Linked DNA regions of Homo sapiens: regions 1, 2 and 3 are each linked to region 4. The links are contacts of gene promoters, found by promoter capture Hi-C in blood cells and fetal thymus (Javierre and others, 2016). All regions are on one chromosome and are shown on one strand. The core of a region is centred on a gene start or on the middle of the fragment in contact, and the rest is flanking DNA. Distances in the headings are between cores, read along the strand shown. Region 1 overlaps GINM1 (glycosylated integral membrane protein 1). Region 2 overlaps KATNA1 (katanin catalytic subunit A1). Region 3 has its middle 8.9 kb from the start of PPIL4. Region 4 holds the start of UST-AS2 (UST antisense RNA 2).

Evidence for each region. Contacts are between HindIII fragments. The CHiCAGO score rates a contact against its expected background, and 5 or more counts as called.
Region 1: a fragment that was not itself captured here is called in contact with the fragment with the promoter of UST-AS2 in region 4 in 3 of 17 cell types (naive CD4 T cells, activated CD4 T cells and total CD4 T cells); the score reaches 7.0 in naive CD4 T cells.
Region 2: a contact is called between a fragment that was not itself captured here and the fragment with the promoter of UST-AS2 in region 4, in 6 of 17 cell types (naive CD8 T cells, fetal thymus, naive CD4 T cells and 3 more). The highest score is 7.3, in naive CD8 T cells.
Region 3: a fragment that was not itself captured here is called in contact with the fragment with the promoter of UST-AS2 in region 4 in 5 of 17 cell types (activated CD4 T cells, non-activated CD4 T cells, naive CD4 T cells and 2 more); the score reaches 6.9 in activated CD4 T cells.

Annotation. Positions count from the first base shown.
Region 1 is chr6:149,574,176-149,579,530 of GRCh38, reverse strand. It overlaps GINM1 (glycosylated integral membrane protein 1), which reads right to left. Exons shown (of 8, transcript NM_138785.5): 4 at 558-709. Among named protein-coding and RNA genes, the nearest start is that of GINM1, 10 kb to the right of the region's middle. The HindIII fragment of the contact is 2,347 bases long and covers 222-2,568 here.
Region 2 is chr6:149,596,310-149,601,169 of GRCh38, reverse strand. KATNA1 (katanin catalytic subunit A1) reads left to right here. Exons shown (of 11, transcript NM_007044.4): 8 at 2,820-2,946; 9 at 3,529-3,663; 10 at 3,981-4,107. Among named protein-coding and RNA genes, the nearest start is that of GINM1, 32 kb to the right of the region's middle. The HindIII fragment of the contact is 2,918 bases long and covers 130-3,047 here.
Region 3 is chr6:149,552,399-149,557,559 of GRCh38, reverse strand. No RefSeq gene overlaps it. Among named protein-coding and RNA genes, the nearest start is that of PPIL4, 8.9 kb to the right of the region's middle. The HindIII fragment of the contact is 7,087 bases long and covers 1-5,083 here.
Region 4 is chr6:149,029,466-149,034,448 of GRCh38, reverse strand. UST-AS2 (UST antisense RNA 2) reads left to right here and starts at 1,788. Exons shown (of 2, transcript NR_134599.1): 1 at 1,788-1,924. The region is part of intron 7 of UST (uronyl 2-sulfotransferase); the gene reads right to left. RefSeq lists an enhancer at 1,195-1,384. The HindIII fragment of the contact is 1,599 bases long and covers 1,395-2,993 here.

The sequences.
Region 1 (5,355 bases), core at 146-2,645, 550 kb before region 4:
AGTAGAGACAAGGAGTTTCTCCATGTTGGTCAGGCTGGTCTAGAACTCCTGACCTCAGGTGATTCGTCCACCTTGGCCTCCCAAAGTGCTGGGATTACAGGTGTGAGCCACCATGCCCAGCTAACAATTACTATTTATTTCCCCGTACTCCCACTTTGGGGCACTTAACTTGCAACTTTAATAATATTCCTGTCCTGCTTTAACACTTACTATTATAAGCTTAATCTCGATTCTACTTCATTTACACACAGAGACTTCATTTACCATAGAGGAAATGGTAGCAGAACTATGAGCCAAATTGAATCTCTTTGCTTACTTTCTATTTAATAATGTCTGTACATTTTAAAGTGATACAAACATGTATGAATATGGGAAATTTTAAAAATACATTTCAAATGCTAAAATAAATATACAAAAATTCTAAATAATTGGATATAGGCAACATTAGGCACCTTCCTTATCAAGTCGGAAACAAATAAAATAACTGAACACATGCATAATATCTAGCACAAATCTAAATATCATTTAATTCCCAATTAATAAACATACTATCTTACTTGTTTTCCATCAATCTCTACTACCTCTTCTTGAATGACAATTAGTTGCAAACTGGAACCAGATGTCATAGGCCACTCATGAACTAAAATCCTTACACTGACAATTCCAAAATATTCTTTTTCCTCCAAATTTTCAAGATTTTCATTCTTCACTATAAAAAAAAAAGTAGTGACACCTTTGAACAAAGATTACCACCAAATCTGTGAGTGAGTGTGATTATTTTGATGACATTTACATGGAACAAGACAGTTGAAAACCCATTTCTTTGGCTTTCTTCATCCCTGACCTCAATGCTGTTTCAGATTTATTAAAAACAAAGACAATCTGACAAATCTTTATGACTGCTTACACTCATTTGAAAGGGTAAAATGTGTTGATCTTTAGACTTTGTATGAAATACCACACTAGCAACATCTTTCCTATTCTTTTTTTTTTTTTTTTTTTTTTGAGATGGAGTCTTGCTCTGTCGCCCAGGCTGGAGTGCAGTGGTGCCACCTTGGCTCACTGCAACCTTTGCCTCCTGGGTTCAAGGGATTCTCCTGCCTCAGCCTCCCAAGTAGCTGGGTTTACAGGCTTGCACCACCATGCTCAGCTGTTTTTTTGTATTTTTAGCAGAGATAGGGTTTCACCATATTGGCCGGGCTGGTCTTGCTAACTCCTGACCTCAAGTGATTCACCCACCTTGGCTGCCCAAAGTGCTGGGATTACAGGCGTGAACGACCACGCCTGGCCCATCTTTCCTATTCTTTTATACAGGTTGGCCATGAGGAACCAACATGGCACAACTATAAAGCCAGCCAGAAGATACAGCCAATCCCACGTTTTAACATAATAAGCACATACATTCATCCATCCACAAAATCCTGTGAGAGAAGATGCCCAAGCAGTAAGAACATTGAGTTTTTTAATCAATCCTTTCCCCGATTAGTGACTCATTACTATTAGAGAGAGCAGGAATGGGGAAAGAGGGTGGGGGAGGCCTGTCATTTCTCTCTGGTAATCGATAATGGGGTAGGACTAGCTATTGTCCACGTTCTTCTCTAGCTAGGAAACCTCTACTCCTGCTCCAGTAGAAACGGGGTGTAGTAGCTGCAGCTGGTTTACAGAGCCAACGGCTACTCTATTAAGGTAGAAGTGCTATCGAAAAAGATAAAACAACATACACCAATGCACCTGTCACAGATGGAGCATTTTATTTCTATCCCTCAAATAATCTGAAGATTTTTGCCAAACAGGAATCCAGATATACAATCTGAATGCACACCCAGCTGTTTAGTCTGATTCTGTGCATCTATAGGGCTACTTCCTTTGTCTGGAATATCTCAATATCTAGTTCATTAACTACTTACTATTACAAGATATACCTACCTATTCTCCCCTGCTTTAGTCCCCGCCGCCAAACCATTCAGACAACATGCCAAGCTCGTCTCACTGTGACGTGGTTTTCAGTCCACAGCCTCCTGCTCACACACCTTTAGTGGCACTTCTGTGAAGTTCCCGGTCCTCTCACTGGTCCTCCTCAGGCTCCTCATCTGGCCCCTCGCTGCTCCTCTCTCTAGTGTGCCTAATCCTTCATGCCCTTTGAAAAGCACCACTGTCAAAGGTACCCCCTCTCTCATGGTCCATCCCCGTGTTTTAACTGACCATTACCACCCGTGGGTCTCCTTCGTGGAACAGCAGGCGCTGTGTCAGCATGTCCGTAAGCCCAAAGACTAAGGTACAGGAGACTCAATGGGTGAGAAAATGCAGTCATAAAAATACACCCAAGTGGCAATTCTTCAGCCTGCAAATTTGGTACCTGATATAGTTTGGATGTTCCCCGCAAATCTCATGTTGAGATGTAATTCCCAATGTTGGAGGCGGGGCCTGGTGGGAGATGTTTGGGCCATGGGGGCAGATCCCTCATGGCTTGGGGTTACGGCACCCCACTGCCACTCTTGCTCTCTCTTGCTCCTGCTCTGCCATGTGAGATACTGGCTCCCCCTTTGCCTTCCACCATGAGTAAAAGCTTCCTGACGCCTCCTTAGAAGCTGAGCAGATGCTGGTGCCATGCTTCCTGTACAGCCTGCAGAACCATGAGCCAATTAAACCTCTTTTCTTTATAAATTACCCAGTCTCAGGTATTTCTTTATAGCAATGTGAGAAGAGCCTCATACAGTACCTCTAATACAGCATAAAATTAAATAAAAAACAACAAAGCCCTTCATATTGACTTCCTTACTGTGGTAGGCGGCTTTCAAAAATGCCCCTCAATGACCCTTGCCTCTAAGGAGTCAGACATTTCTGCAATTCCTCCCTCAAGTGGGCTGGACCTAGTGACTAGTCAGTTAGTTACCTATCTATCTATCGATCTATGAATGATTTTTTTTTCTTTTTTTGTTCTTTTGAAAGAGACAGCCTTGCTATCTTGCCTAGGCTGGTCTTGAACTCCTGGCCTCAAGTGATCCTCCAGCCTTAGCCTCCCAAATAGCTGGGATTACAGGCATGAGCCAATGCACACAGCCTAGTGACTCGTTTCTAACAAACAGAGCATAGCCCAAGTGATGGAATGTTACTGCCACAATTAGATTATTAATGGCTATGACTTCTGTCTTGCTAGTACTCTTTTTCTTACTGGCAGTCTCTCTTGTCCTCTCGATGAAGCTAGTTGCCATGTTGTGAGATGCTCTATGGGGAGCTTCGTGTGACAAGGAACTGAGGAAGACCTTCAACCAACATCTGGTGAGGAACTGAGGCCTCAGTTCAAGAGCTCAGAAGGAACTGACTCCTGCCAACAACCACATGAGTGAGCTGGGAAGCAGATTTTTCCCAGCTGAGCCCTGACGTGATGGCAGCCTTTTGAGAACCACAGGACCCTGCTAAGCCAAGCTCAGATTCTCGACCTACAGAAACTATGAAATAATAAATATTGTCTTAGGCCACTGATTTCTGGGTTAAACTGTTATGCAGCAATAAACAAATACACCAACTAAAGAAAAAGTTTCTTTAAAGAATTAAAGAAGATTTGTTGTTGTTGCTGCATTTAATGTTTTGAAGATTCTTGCTGTAACTGGATAAGATGAGCATTTATTTCAGTTATCATAGAAACAAACTCAGTGCAATGACTGGGATGACTAAAAGATGGCCATAAGAGAGGAGACAGGCTGTATTCCACGTCCAATTCCCAGTGAATACAACAACAAAAGAATTATTATTTCAGTAGTACTAGCACTTCCTTTCTTAGCTACCATGGATCAGCTTGCAGCACACCAACCCTCTTGCAATGAACCACTTGCAAAGAACTGCTAGAAAAGATGTAAAAAATACACACCCACACATACACACAAAACCTACATCTGTGTAGAGGCATCAGAAGCTAAAGACAGCCAGCACTTGAAGGGCCAAGAAAAGAGCTCCCTGAGGTGAGTACAATATCCTATGTGATTTCTTCCCGCAAAGGCATTTGCCAACTCCCAGACAGAACAGGTGGAGAGGTTGAAAAGCTGAGTAGAAAGCAACGACTAGGAGGCAAAAAAGCTCGACAAAGTGTCTGGCAGTCTCACCCAGCAGGGGAGAAAATGAAGTGTTTAAATGTTAAAACAAAAATGCTAAGCTATGCTTCCACAGCCAGCAAAAATAGCCTTCTAAAATGAAGGCAAAGAGATGTTTTCAGACAAATAAAACCTCAGACCATTCACTGCTAACAAACCTGTACTGAAAGAAATACCAAAGGGAATTCTTTAGGCCGAAGGAAAATGACAACCAGGGCACAATGCATGTGTGTGAGGGCAAGGCAGGAGTTGCAGAATGTACAGAGAAATAGGGATAGAAGAAAGAATTTTGGAACTTGAAATTCCAACCAAATGATATAGAGTGGAGCACAGATAGGAAGGAATAAAGAGCAATGAAAAAGGTAACTATGATGGTAAACACACATGAATATTGGACTACATAAAACAATAATTATGTCACATGGGGTTTAAGAACACAAAGAGTTAAAATATATAATAATAACCCAAAGGCAAAAAGGGAATAAATGGAATTTAAGTGTTCTAAGGTTCTTGCATTGTTTGGGAAGTGATAAAAGTACAAATTTATTTATTTTTATTTTTTAAATTCATTTTTTGAGACAGGGTCTCACTCTGTCACCCAGGATGGACTACAGTGGTACAATCACAGCTTACTGCAGCCTCTATCTCCTGAGCTCAAGGGATCCTTTCACCTCAGCCTCCTAAGTAGCTGGGAAAACAAGCCTGCACCACCACACTGGGCTCATAGGTTTCCCTATGTTGCCCAGGCTGGTCTCGAACTCCCAGACTGAAGTGATCCTCCAGCTTTGGCCTCCCAAAGGGCTGGGAATACAGGCATGAGCAACCATGCCCAGCCAAAAGTACTAATCTATTGATAGCAAGGGTAACCACTAAAAGAATAGTAAAATTACGTAAAACCAAGACAGAAGGGAACTATGATACCAAAAATAACTAACCTAGAAGAAGGCAAAGGGGGAAGAAAAAGAAACACAGAACAGTTGGGACAAAGAGGAAACAAGAAGGAGGATTTAAATCCAAATGTATCAGTAATTTTATTAATGTAAATAAGTTAAAATCCCAACTAAAAGACAGACTGACAGAAACAACAAGTGGGCCGGGCACGGTGGCTCACGCCTGTAATCCCAGCACTTTGGGAGGCCGAGGCAGGCGGATCACCTGAGGTCAGGAGTTCGAGACCGGCCTTGACCAATATGGTGAAACCCCATCTCTACTAAAAATACAAAAATTAGCCGGGCATGGTGGCGGGCACCTGTAATCCAAGCTACTC
Region 2 (4,860 bases), core at 339-2,838, 570 kb before region 4:
CTTTGGATTAGGTTCTTTCTTCCACCAATACAAATCAGAGTACCAATAGAAGAAATGTAATTCAACAAGTTCTGGTAGAGTGTTTAGATTGAATTCCACAGCCTTTTAAACTTCAGACTTTGTTAAGCTTCACTGATTACGTCACTCTTGCCTCTAAGAAACAGAGTAGTTTTATGTAATTAGGATAGAGTTATGCTATTAGTGACAAAGACGTGAATCTTCTTTTTTTTGAAATGGGTTCTCAGTCTTGCCTAGGCTGGTATGCAGGAGCATGATCACAACTCGCTGCATCCGTGACCTCCCAGGCCCAAGTGCTCTTCCCATCTAAGCCTCCCAAGCAGCTGGGATGATGGACATGAGCCACCACACTCAGCTCATTTTTTTTTTTTTTTTTTTTTTACAGATGGGGTCTTGCTGTGTTGCCCAGGCTGATCTTGAACTCCTGGGTTCAAGTGATCCTCTTGCTTCAGACTCCCAAAGTGCTAGATTTATAGGCATGGGTCACCAATCCTGGTCAAGACATGAATTCTATTTTTTTTGACAGGGTCTCATTCTGTCACCTAGGCTGGAGTGCAGTGTTGCAATCTCGGCTCACAGCAGCCTTCACCTCCTAGCCTCAAGCGATCCTCCCACCTTAGCCTCCTGAGTAGCTGGGACTACACAAGTGCACTACCATGCCTGGCTAATTTTTGTATTTTTAGTAGAGATGAGGTTTTGCCATGTTGACCAGGCTGGTCTTGAACTCCTGACCTCAGGTGATCTGCCCACCTTGGCCTCCCAAAGTGTTAGGATTATAGGTATGAGCCACTGCGCCTGGCCTTTTTTGATTTTTTTGTAGAGATGAAGTCTCACTACGTTGCCCAGGCAGTCTAGAACTCCTGGCCTAACACTCCTCTTGCCTAGACCCCATAAAGTGCCGGGATTACAGGCAAGAGCCATTGTGTTCAGCTTTTTTTTTTTTTTTTTTTTTTTTTTAAGATAAGCTCTCACTATATTGCACAGGTTGTAGTGCAGTGGTTATTCACAGGCACAATCATAGCATACTGCATCCTCCTCTCTCAGCATCCCAAGTAGCTGGGACTTCAGTCGTGTACCACTGCACTCAGCTTTCAAGCCTTATTTTTATTGTCCTTAGGGTAATGAACTCTCAGCAAAGTTAGCCCTCATTTTGTCATAGTTCCAGCAAAAGTCCAAAGATTAATATTTGGCCTGTTTTGAGTTTCATACCTATGCCGAAACTCCTTGTTTTTGGTCAGAGAATTGGAGTGCTCTGATTGGCCAGGTCTGAATAAAACCCCTGGAGTTCCAAGTAAAGTTAGCCTCTTTTGAAGTAGTGGAATAGGAATGAGAGGGGCCCGGCATGGTGGCTCATGCCTGTAATCCCCGCACTTTGGGAGGTTGAGGCGGGCAGATCACTTGAGGTCAGGAGTTCGAGACCAGCCTGGCCAACATGATGAAACCCCGTCTCTACTAAAAATACAAAAATTAGCCAGGTGTGGTGGCGTGCACCTGTAATCCCAGCTACTTGGGAGGCTGAGGCAGGAGAATTGCTTGAACCGGGGTGGCAGAGGTTACAGAGAGAGGGAGAGGGGAGAGGGGAGAGGGGAGGAAAGAAAGAAAGGGATGATTTGCAAATGAAAAAGAGGCTTCTCTTACCAGAAGTGTGCTGTGCAGGGAGAACCAATTGGTGTCCTCTACCGTACCTTCCTGGGCCAGCTAAACCCAGGACACATAGCCTTTCCTTGAAGTCAGATCATTCTACATAACCTCAGTATGTGGGAAGAATCAGTCTAGTCACTTTTGCTTGGTGTGGCAACAGACTGAAGTTTAATTTTTGTTGATGTAGGTGCTTTTGATAGATGCTTCCTAAAATTTTAGTTGAGAATTTTCTTGGATGTTTTAATGATGATGAAGTTCACTCTTTCCCTCTCTCCATTTGTTGAAAAAGTACAAAAATATTTATACATAAAGACCCAAGTATTGACTCTCTTTAAAGATGAAATTATCCCACTAGGTACAGTGGCTCATTGTAATCCTAGCATTTTGGGAGGCCGAGGCAGGAAGATTGCTTGAGTCTAGGAGTTTGAGACCAGCCTAGGCAACATAATAAGACACCATCTCTACCAAAAATATAAAAATAAGCCTGGTGTGGTGGCACACACCTGTAGTCCTAGCTACTCGGGAGGTTGAGGTGAGAGGATTGCTTGAGCCCAGGAGCTCAAGGTTGAAGTGAGCCAAAATCATATCACTGCACTCCAGCCTGGATGACAGAGCAAGACCTTGCCTCTTAAAAAAAAATAAATAAATAAAAAACGGTTCATTAGAAGCCATATTTTAGCTGTTCTAATTCTATCCCATCTCCCCAGTATTAGCGTGAGAGAAAGATGCACAGTGTGGCAGGCTCCTTAGCTGTTTTGTTGTTTTCTTTCTTTCCTCTTGTTTTAGAGACAGGTTCTCACTCTGTCACCCAGTCTGGAATACAGTGGTGTGGTGTGATCATAGCTCACTGCAGCCTTGAACTCCTGGGCTCAAGGGATCCTCTCACCTAGCCTCCTGAGTAGCTGGGACTCAGACACGTGTAACCACACTCAACTAATATTTTAATTTTCTGTAGAGATGGAGTCTTGCTATGTTGCCCAGGCTGGTCTCGAACTCTTGGGCTCAATCCATCCTCCTGCCTCACCCTCCCAGTGTTGGGATTACAGGTGTGAGCCACTGTGCCCAGCCTCCCTCAGCTATTTTCTGATTGCTAATCTGTAGATTATTTTAAAATGAAATAATAGCTTAATAGCTTGATATTGCATGGTTTCTTCCTTTAGGCTCGATTTTATTCTCCAGCCACCATATTTATTGATGAGATAGACTCCATCTGTAGTCGCCGAGGGACTTCTGAAGAACATGAAGCAAGCAGAAGGGTGAAAGCGGAGCTGCTGGTTCAGATGGATGGTATCTGTGTTTAGCTTGAGTTGAACAGGGACGGGAGGTTGTTAGGTGTGGTGTCTCCAGTTCCAGTGGGTCAAACTTTACTCATAGTGCTAACCCAAGCTTTTAATAGGTATTCTTAACTTCAGATGGACTAGAGGGGGTGGCAAGAAGTTCCTGATAGTGATAGTAATAGATTTGGTACACTGACAGTGGTGACAAGTCAGAATTAATGGCCACACACAGGGCACCCTTTTGGTATATACAACTATCTTACTTTAGCTATGAAATTGAAATAAAAATAAATGCAGATAAATTGGCCTTAGAGTTTATGTACGCTTTGAAAAAGATTTAAAATTGTTATGTATTTGAGATCTGGCTTTTCGATTAAATCTATTTTGAGTCATATATTTGCATACTACAGAACTCATTTTCTTTGGATTACAAATTCACATAGGTACCAGTTAACCTAAGTCTTAAGGAGGCATTAAGACTGTGCTTCCTTGTATTGTTGTACTAAATAGTTGTTGATCTTTAAATAGCTGAGCTTCATTTGGTATAATCCAACTTAATATCTTTTTCACTCTCCCCTTACCCTTATTTTAGGTGTTGGAGGTACTTCTGAAAATGATGACCCTTCCAAAATGGTTATGGTTCTGGCAGCTACTAATTTTCCCTGGGATATAGATGAGGCTTTAAGACGACGCCTTGAGAAACGAATCTATATTCCTTTGCCGTCAGGTATCTTCCTTTCAATCTTGTCAGAAAGCCTGTTAACTTTCATGTAGTTTTGTTTAGAGAATTTAAAATTTGTTATTAACTAACTTTCTGGAAGAGATACATGAGGAGTATCTTCCTTTACAGTACTAGTTTGGCTATATGCCTTAATACTAAATAGTAAGGAATTAAAAAGTAAAGAATGGCTCTTTACTTAATTATCTCTTCTTAGAGATCCAATTCTTACTGGAAGACAACATCTCACACAAAGAAGATTTGAGACAATAGTATACTATGTTTATGCTGCAGGCTTACATTTTAAAATTTGTTTCTACCATTAGCAAAAGGCAGGGAGGAGCTATTACGAATAAGTCTACGTGAGTTGGAATTGGCTGATGATGTTGACCTTGCAAGTATAGCAGAAAACATGGAAGGTTATTCAGGTGCGGACATTACCAACGTGTGCAGGTATGAATTATCATGGAAGCATAGGTTTTTGTAAGCATAAACTTCTAGTATGAAGTTTTTTGGTTTTGTTTTTTGAGACACAGTCTCGCTCTGTTGCCTAGACTGGAGAGTAGAGGCGCAGTCACAGCTTACTGCAGCCTGAAACTCCTGGGCTCAAGTGATCCTCTGACGTGAAGTTTTTATGCTGAATTAAGACAGATCAATATCTTGGTGGTGGCTCACGCCTGTAATCTCAGCACTTTGGGAGGCCAAGTGGGAGATCACTTGAGCCCAGGAGTTTGACTGGCCTGGGTAACATTGCAAGACCTCATATCCATGAAAAAAATTTTAAAAATTAGCCGGGCATGGTGGTTCCCACCTGCTCAGGAAGCTGAGGCAGGAGGATCGCTTGAGCCCAGGAGTTTGAGGCTGCAGTGAGCCATGATTGTGCCACTGCACCCCAGCCTGGGCGACAAAGCAAGACCCTGTGTCCAAAGAAAAAAAAAAAAGATGAATAAAGACCCACATTCCAGTTTTGTTTTGTTTTTTGAGACGGAGTCTCGCTCTGTCACCCAGGCTGAAGTGCAGTGGTCCGATCTCGGCTCACTGCAACCTTTGCCTCCTGGGTTCAAGTGATTCTTGTGCCTCAGCCTCCCGAGTAGCTGGGATTACAGGCATGCACCACCACACCTGGCTAATTTTTGTATTTTTAGTAGAGACGGTGTTTCACCATGTTGACCAGGCTGGTGTCGAACTCCTGACCTCAAGTGATCC
Region 3 (5,161 bases), core at 291-2,790, 520 kb before region 4:
TTAGTCTGTTCAGGTTTTCTGTTTCTTTCTGATTCAGTCTTGGTAGATTGTATGTGTCCAAGAATTTATACATTTCCTCTAGGTTTTTGTCAGCATATAGTCATAAAAGTCTCTGATAATTTTTTTGTATTTCTGTGGCATCAATGGTAATATCTCCTTTCTCATCTTTGATTTTGTTTCTTTGAGTATTCTTTTCTTGGTTGGTCTAGATAACAGTTTATCAATTTTGTTTATTTTTTTGAAGAACCAACTTTTTGTTTCATTGGTCCTTTGTAATTTTTTAGTCTCAAATTGATTTAGTTCTGCTCTGATCTTTACTTTTTCTTCTCATAATTTGGGGGTGTGATTTGTTCTTGCTTTTCTAGTTCCTTTAAGTGCATTATTAGGTTGTTTATTTGAAATCATTCTACTTTTTTGTGTTTTTTATTGTCAATTACTTTAAAATTTTTAAAATTTTTAAATTTTAAATTTTAATAGTTTGTGGGGAACAAGTGGTATTTGGTTACATGGATAACTTCTTTAGTGGTGATTTCTGAACTTTTGCTACACCTATAATCTGAGCAGTGTACACTGTACCTAATTATAGTCTTTTATTCCTTACCTCCTTTCAACCTTCCCCCTGAGTCCCCAAAGTCCATTGGATCATTCTTATGCCTTTGCATTTGCATCCTCATAGCATAGCTCCCACTTATAAGTGAGAACATACAATGTTTAGTTTTCCATTCCTGAGTTACTTCACTTAGAATGATGGTCTGCAACTCCTTCCAGGTTGCTGCAAATGCTATTATTTTGTTTCTTTTTATGGCTGAGTAGTATTCCATGGTGTATATATATATCACACTTTCTTTTCTTTCTTTCCCTTTTTTTTGAGTCGGAGTCTCTCTCTGTCACCCAGGCTGGAGTGCAGTGGCATGATCTTGGCTCACTGCAACCTCTGCCTCTCAGGTTCGAGCAATTCTCCTGCCTCAGCCTCCCAAGTAGCTGGGATTACAGGTGTGTGCCACCACGCCCAGCTAATTATTATTATTATTTTTTTTTGAGGTGGAGTCTCACTCTGTCGCCCAGGCTGGAATGCAGTGACGCGATCTCGGCTCACTGCAACCTCCATCTCCCGGGTTCACGCCATTCTCCTGCCTCAGCCTCCCGAGTAGCTGGGACTACAGGTGCCCACCACCACGCCTGGCTAATTTTTTGTATTTTCAGTAGAGACAGCGTTTCACCATGTTAGCCAGGATGGTCTCGATCTCCTGACCTCGTGATCCACCCGCCTTGGCCTCCCAAAGTGCTGGGATTACAAGCATGAGCCACCGCACCCAGCCTAATTTTTGTATTTTTAATAGAGATGCAGTTTTGCCATGTTGGTCAGGCTGGTCTCCAACTCCTGACCTCAGATGATCTGCCCGCCTCAGCCTCCCAAAGTGCTGGGATTACAGGCGTGAACCACTGCGCCTGGCCACTGCCACATTTTCTTTATCCACTCGTTGACTGATGGACATTTGGGCGGGTTCCATATTTTTACAATTGTGAATTGTGCTGCTACAAACATGTCTGTGCAAGTGTCTTTTTCATGTAATGACTTCTTTTTGTCTGAGTGGAAATCCAAAAGTGGGACTGCTGCATCAAAATGGTAGATCTACTTTTAGTTCTTTAAGGAATCTCCATAATGTTTTCCATAGTGGTTGTGCGAGTTTACATTCCCACCAGTAGTGTAGATGTGTTCCCTTTGCACCATATCCATGCCAGTATCTATTTTTTTTTTTTAATTATGGCCATTCTTACAGGGGTAAAGTGGTATCGCATTGTGGTTTTGATTTGCATTTCCCTGATAATTAGTGATGTTGAGCATTTTTTCATGTTTGTTGACCATTCGTATATCTTCTTTTGAGAATTGTCTATTCATGTCCTTAGCCTAATTTTCGATGAGACTATTTTGTTTTCTTGCTGATTTGTTTGAGTTCCTTGCAGATTCTGGATATCAGTCCTTTGTTGGATGCACAGTTTGTGAAAATTTTTGTCCACTCTGTGGGTTGTCTGTTTACTCTGCTGATTATTTCTTTTGCTGTGCAGAAACTTTTTAGTTTAATTAAGTCCCATCTATTTATCTTTTTTGTTGTTGCATTTGCTTTTGGGTTCTTGATCATGAAGTCTTTGCCTAAGCCAATGTCTAGAAGAGTTTTTCCGATGTTATCTTTTAAAATTTTGATGGTTTCAGGTCTTAGATTGAAGTCTTTGATCCATCTTCAGTTGATTTTTAGATAAGGTAAGACATGAGGATTCAGTTTCACTCTTCTACATGTGGCTTGCCAATTATCCCAGCACTGTTTGTATGGTATTCTTTCCCCACTTTATGTTTTTGTTTGCTTTGTTTAAGATCAGTTGGCTGTTAGCTTTATTTCTGGGTTCTCTATTCTGTTCCATTTATCTATTTGCCTATTTTTATACCAGTACCATGCTGTTTTGGTGACTACAGCCTTATAGTAGAGTTTGAAGTCAGGTAAAGAACAAAAAAGGCCGGGTACAGCCTCACACATGTGATCCCAGCACTTTGGAAGGCCGAGGCAGGCAGATCACCGTAGGTCGGGAGTTCAAGACCAGCCTGACTAACACGGAGAAACTGCATCTCTACTGAAAGTCCAAAAAATTAGTCAGGACTAGTGGCGCATGCCTATAATCTCAGCTACTCAGGAGGCTGAGGCAGAATTGCTTGAACCCAGGAGGCGGAGATTGCGGTGAGCCGAGATCGCGCCATTGCACTCCAGCCTTGGCAACAAGAGTAACTCCGTCTAAAAAAAAAAAAAAGAAAATTATTCTTTTTGCTTAGTCTTGCTTTGGCTATATGGGCTCTTTTTTGGTTCTATATGAATTTTAGGATTGTTTTTTCTAGTTCTGTGAAGACGATGATGGTATTTTGATGAGAATTGCATTGAATTTGTAGATTGCTTTTGGCAGTATAGTCATTTTCACAATACTGATTCTACCCATTCATGAGCATGGGATGTGTTTCCATTTGTTTGTGTCATCTGTGATTTCTTTCAGCAGTGTTTAGTAGTTTTCCTTGTAGAGGTCTTTCACCTCCTTGGTTAGGTATATTCCTAAGTATTTTATTATTTTTTTGCAAGCTATTGTAGAGGTGATTGAATTCTTGGTTTGATTCTCAGCTTGATTGCTGTTGGTGTATAACAGTGTTACTGATTTGTGTACATTGATTTTGTATCCTGAAATTTTACTGAATTCGTGTATCAGATGTCGTAACTTTTTGGATGAGTCTTTAGGGTTTCTAGGTATACGATCACATCATCAGCAAACAGCAACAATTTGACTTCTTCCTTACTGATTTGGATTCCCTTTATTCCTCTTGTCTGATTGCTCTGGCTAGGACTTCTAATACTATGTTGAATAGAAGTGGTGAAAGTGATCATCCTTGTCTTATTCCAGTTCTTAGGGGGAATGCTTTAAACTTTTCCCTGTTCAGTATAATGTTGGCTATGGGTTTATCATAGATGGTTGGTTATTTTTGAGAGAGTTTATCATAGATTTGTTTTGTTTCGTTTCGTTTTGTTTTTTTGAGATGGAGTCTCACTCTGCTGCCCAGACTGGAGCACAGTGGCACGATGTGGGTTCACTGCAACCTCCGCCTCCTGGGTTCAAGCAATTCTCCTGCCTCAGCCTCCCAAGTAGCTGAGATTACAGGCATCTGCCACCACATCTGGCAAATTTTTGTATTTTTAGTAGAGTGGGGGACTTCAATACTCACCGAGGTTGAAGCAGCAGTGAGCCCTGATCATCCCACTGCACTACAGCCTGAATAGGAGTGAGACCCTGTCTCAAAAACATTTTTTTCAAGAAAGAAAAAGAAAACTGAAACATTAGTTCAACCTAATTGCCTGATACTGTGTATATAACTCATATAATCTTTCCCTAGCAGAATCCTAAATTAGAAGACTAGAGATAGTGTTAAAGAGTAGTGTTTGATAACATTCTGTGTATCCTTAAGAGAAATATTACAAATCCAAGGAAAAAAAGAGAGGGTTTGGAAAAATCAAGCAATTTTTTTTTTTAAGACAGAGTCTCACTCCATTACCCAGGCTATAGTACAGTGGCATGATTGCGGCTCACTGCAACCTCCACCTCCCGGGTTCAAGCAATTCTTGTGCCTCAGCCTTCCAAGTAGCTGGAATTACAGGCATGCGCCACCATGCCCAGCTAATTTTTGTATTTTTAGTAGAAACGGGGTTCTACCATGTTGGCCAGGCTGGTCTCAAACTCCCGAGCTCAAGTAATCTGCCTGCCTTGGCCTCCCAAAGTGTTGGGATTACAGGCGTGAGCCACTAATCAATTTTAATTTTTAAAGAAGAATTTGGACTATTCAAAGAGAATTGGAAAGTGACATAATAAATATGAGAAATGATTTCACATCTGGAGTTATTCATTAATGACTATATACGGTATTGCCAGATTGTTTTGAAGAATCAGACTCTGGTATGGGCATTTTTTTTTTAATTTTTAATTTTTCAATCACTTTCCAACAGTGATAATTAAGGTATGGACATCTTTCTAGATAGAATACCTTCTTATTATTATTCAGTGTGTAATTTACACCATCTTTAAATTATGCTGTACTTAATTATATCCCTAAATATAAAATATTCTACCATCACAAGGAAAATACCATTTCATTATATAGTTTCTGCTTGTCATTATCTTATTGTCTCTAATGCTACAAATATTTAAATATGTTGAAGTGGTTTGTATAGTAGTTACATAGGTGAAAAGAAAGAGCTATATTATTTGCAATTCTACCAAATGTAAATAGTAAAGTAGATTAAGTCTGGAGGAAAGATTAGTACATTTTTGTTGCTTTCCAAACATTAACATCAAGGAGAGGTTTCAAGATGCCTGACTAGATGCAGCTAGTATGCACCTCCTCCATGGAGAGGGACAAATATAGCAACTAGATATTCACACTTCAAAGCGATTGTCTAAGAAAGAACACTGGGATTCAACAGAAAAGTGACAGGAAGCACTGAAAGCAGGGAAAGAGGCAGCTTGCTCAGCCAGGATTGGATGAGAAGTGGGAGAAGCTTCCCAATACAGGGAAAGGGTAAGAGAGAAACCCTTAGAGCTTCATATTTCTGTCATCGTCTTTTATAATGTAGCTGCA
Region 4 (4,983 bases), core at 539-3,038:
CGATGGAGCTTAAAGAGCTCTGGGTGGAAAGAGGAGAGGGCCTCTGCGGGAAGGGAGGGCAGGTTGGGATGGAACTGACATACTTATCTGGTAATTAATATTTAAATAATACCAAAAGTAATACTGAATGCGGCAGATCTAATGGCACATACGAAAATTTTGGCACATACGAAATTTTTGATAGGTACAAATAAATCTAGGCAAATAAATGAAGGCAATAAATAATTCCAGGAAAAACAATTAAGTTGTGCAAGAAATGAAACAAAATCATGATGTACTACTCTGATCAGCAGCCAACAAAATGTATATAGTCACAGCAACGTCAGCAGGACCATGCATCTCAAATGTGGGTATGACCATCTTAGGAAGATGGAGAGGAGCAAGGAAGTAGAAGTAAAGGTAATGGAATAAGAGAATGAGATCATGACCCCAGTAAATCAAGAAACAGCAGCCTGTGCATACTAGTTACAGATAGCGCGGTGATTATCCGAAGAAACATCTAGCTGCGCTGAAAGTGATTGGCTCTGCAACATCAGACTTCATCTTTGGGAGGGTTGGAATAGGAAACTGCTGGTTTTCATTATACATCTTATAGGACTATTTGATTTTTAATTATATACATGCATTACTTAATAGATATAGCAAAAAATGCAGGGAGGTAAAATCCTAGGAACACATGTTTTGAAAAACAGTTCTGGTAGAGTCTGGTTGACAATGCAGCAGAAGCATCTAGAAGCGTATGCTATGGTAAAGACGAGGGGCGGGGTGAGACCTTCAAGTCAAGTGAAACTACCCCACCTGACAAACAACCCTCTCTTCTTCTCATCAGTGTGGGATTATGTTGGATTTTTCTATGCGTTTGTAGGTAATGAAATGAACGTGCTTACTAGAACCCACAAGAAACCACACATAAAAATCCCCAGCAATGTTATATACACAGGTATATTTCTAGCTTTTTGCTGTATTCTTTCACAATTCTGTGCCATTTGCAAGATGTGAAAAGCTAGGACATTATGTATTGATAAAAATGTCTGAGACATGAAAAATATACAGACCAAGAAATATTTTTATTTGAAAAAGATTTAGCCAGACAAAAATAGAAGCTTCCATTATAAAATGTTGAGTCATGCAAAATGGGTAAGGATTGTACTTCGCCCCGGCAGGGGGTACATTTTATAAGCAAAGAATGTCAGAGAGCTAAGGCCACGAGCCAAGGGCCCAAAGACAGTTTTGAAATCCTTTGTCTAGTGCTCTTTCCACATCACCACATTAATTCCTGGGGTGGACAGGGACCTTGACAATTTAAGCATAAAAGAACAAACTGACCACAAGGTCGTTTTTATAAAGATCAACCATCAACCCCTGGGGTCAAGTTTCCAATCTTTGCTCAAGCTTTAGAAGCCTTTCAGCTTTGTGGCGTTATCAGGAAAGTCCAAAAATTGAAATTTGTGGTGACTAATTCCACCCCCTACAAATACTCAATGCAGAGCATATTACTGTCAGCTCAGCTAAAAACTGCTCAAAGTAGAAGTGATTAAATTCTAAAGTAGAAAAAAATTCACCTCCAAACACAGAAACACACTGGTACCTCCCCCGCACACCCAGATATTATTAGCCAGCTTTTTGCCTGGGGAAATGAATCATGAGACAGAAAACTGTACAACCCCCAAGTCTGACCACACTGAGTAACTGGGGTAGACACAGAGGGGGGCATCTGGGGCTCTCCCGAGGCCAAGGTTGGGACCCAGAAGAGATGAATTTCCCTGGGTGCACAGGGTGGGAGGGAGGTGGGGCTGGAAGAACTTGATCTGGAGGGATGATCCCGAAGGCTCCCAGTGAAGAAGGCCAGGAAGAGCAGAGGATGGTGCCAGGAGGATGATGTCGGGGGACACAGGCAGCTCATGCCTGGATCAGGCAGTGACTGGTAACAGAAGGAGAGTCCATGCTGGTGGGCCCAGGGGAACATAGGTGGTCAAGCAGGGCAGTACTTGGTGTCTGGGGATGCAGTGTGCGACCTCCTGTATTCGGTGCGAGGCACATGGGGCCAGCAGGAGCTGGTGTGAGCCCGGGTCTGAAGGGTGGTGGGATCTTAGTGGGGAAGACTGGGAAGACAGCAGGGAGGAAGAACTCAGGCTGGAGGAGGATGGGGGCCTGGGAGGATCCCTGCCACACTGTTAGGAAGCCAGGGAGCTTGGGTGGTGGTAGGATGGGAAGAGGGCAGGGAAACGGGGGGAGGGTGACACAGGCCCTCCGGCAGCAGCGGCTTGGCCACTGGCGCTGAGATTGGTATGAGTGACTCAGTGCCAGGTTGCGCCACAGAAAGCTGAGGCTGCGGATCCTTCTCCTGCCTCTGGTAGGGCCGTCTTAAAGGCAGGGTGAGTGAGCCTGGCTCCAAGAGGCTGGGTCCGCAGGCAGGGGCTGACGTGGGCTGGCCCAAGCCCCAGCTCTCCTCACTCTGAGTGCTTCTATGCTTTCTCACCTCCACGCTTCCAATCATGTTATTTTCCTCTTATTAAAATGCCTCCTTCCACGTCCACTTGGCAAACTCCTACGCACCCTTTAAGGCCGGGCACAAATGTCTCCACAGGGTTATGCGCCCCAGCCCTGTTAGTGACGGCCTTCCAGCTAGACAAGATTTTCATCTTTATACTGCCCTTCCCCAGGAAAGGGACATCACAGACACTCAGCTATTTATTTGCTGGAGGTGTTTGTTGAATTTTTCTGGTAGTTTCAGATTACACCTATTTAAATATTAGTTTTCAGAGAAGAGAAATATTTTTGTAAAGTTATTCCTAGAACATCAATGTCTGTGAAGGAAGTTCTATTTTCCTGTTAATCTTTCATAATAAAATTGGAAATGCTTTCTCCTGGAGGAGAGATGATCCCAACGCAAGAACAAATCAGTAAGCAAGAGTAAAACATGTTTTCCAATAAAACAAAGAGTAATAGTTGAAATAGGCCAAACGCACATATATTATGCTGCAATTTAAGCTTTCATAAAGTAAATTAAACAAGCCTAGAGGCTGAATTCTTGTGAATTGGTGATGTTTCTGTAAACTGAATGATGTTATCAGCCTGTGGTTATACAGTTCCCCTCAGAAAAATGTTCACTAAAAAAAATCACAAGTGTTTAGAAGTTAAAGGGGTTTACATTATGTGTTCATTTTTAATGAACTATTTGCCCAGTAGCTACAGCTGAACCAGTTATATGCCTTCAGCTTAGACTTTTTTTTTTTTTTTTTTGAGATGAGTCTTGCTCTGTGGCCCAGGCTAGAGTGCAATGGCTCGATCTCAGCTCACTGCAACCTCCACCTTCCGGGTTCAGGCAATTCTCCTGCCTCAGCCTCCTGAGTAGCTGGGATTACAGGCATGTGTTGCCATGCCTGGCTAATTTTTGTATTTTTAGTAGAGATGGGGTTTCACCATGTTGGCCAGGCTGGTCTCGAACTCCTGACCTTGTGATCCACCTGCCTTGGCTTAACAAAATGTTGAGATTACAGGCATGAGCCAGCATGCCCAGCCCAGCTTAGATTTTTAGACACTATCTTAAAGACCTTGCACTGCTATTCCCTACGTCCCCGCAACCCCCACTGGAAAGACGTCAGGTGTTGTCAAACAGATCTATTCTCAAAATTATTTTTTTCTGTGTGTATTGCCTCGTACTGGCTTAAGATAACACACTGGCTTAAGATAACACATCTTGTGTGTGTGTTAAGGTAACACACACACAAGATCCAGTGCTGACATTATTAGGATCTGAGCCTGGGACATGGCTGCTGAAAAAAAAAATCTTTATAGAGAATATCGATGGTAAATGAACCAATAGCAAATTGAAGTCCTGTTTTCATCAATGATAATTGAGTTTTTAAAAACAATCATCTATGATGATTCCTAAACTCATGTTTCTTAGTGAACAGACAGATACGTTGGACAGAGATAAACTATATATTTAATTTTAATTTTTTTTTTTTGGTAGAAACAGGATCTTGCTGTTGCTCAGGCTGGTCTTGAATTCCTAGGCTCAAGTGATCCTCCTGCCTTGGCCTCCCAAGGTGCTGGGGTTACAGGTATAAGCCACAGTGCCCAGCCTAGATTTTATTTTTAAGCTCTTGCCTTTAATGGCAATACATACTATGAATGCTTAGTACTCACTAACTTCTGAATTAATGATTAAATATAAAGAAGAGTTTTAGAGGAATCACAGATTTATGTTTTGTGATGGGCCTGGGGACAGAAGCGTGAATGTCAGTGCTGTCCCTTAGGACTTGGCGAGACTGTGAGCAAGTTGTTCAGCCTCTTTGAGCCTTGGTTTCCTTGTTTAGAAAATGAGAAAAAAAAATTGTCTTCCTCAACTTCAGGGGATTTGTGTAAGAATCAAATGAGATCATCTATATGAAAGTGTTTTATAACTGCATATTGTTATACAAGTAATTATGACTTAGAAACTTACTGATTTTGTGATCTTAAGATGATTGCATCATGTATGAGTGCTATATAATAAGGAGTCTAGTTGTTTGAACATGGGTAGGTGCACACACCACACACACACACACACACACACACACACACACACACACACACAAGATCCAGTGCTGACATTATTAGGATCTGAGCCTGGGACATGGCTGGTGAAAAAAAAATCTTTATAGAGAATATCGATGGTAAATGAACCAATAGCAAATTGGAGTCCTGTTTTCATCAATGAAAACTGAGTTTTTAAAAACAACTTAATTGCCTTCTAAAAATAGCTAATCTGAATTCCTCCTAACCATCATTGTATACTTGGGAGTTTCCAGAATATTTTTGAGTTTTGCTGCAGCACAGAAGCAATAGAAGTGGAAAATAAAAATGGAAATTAAAAATGAAAGAGAGAATTTGTTTAATTCAGGCTTTCTAAAATGTTAGTTTTTAAAACTAAAGCCAGAGTTAGTGGTGTATCTATATAATATATACATTATATATTATATATACATTATATATATA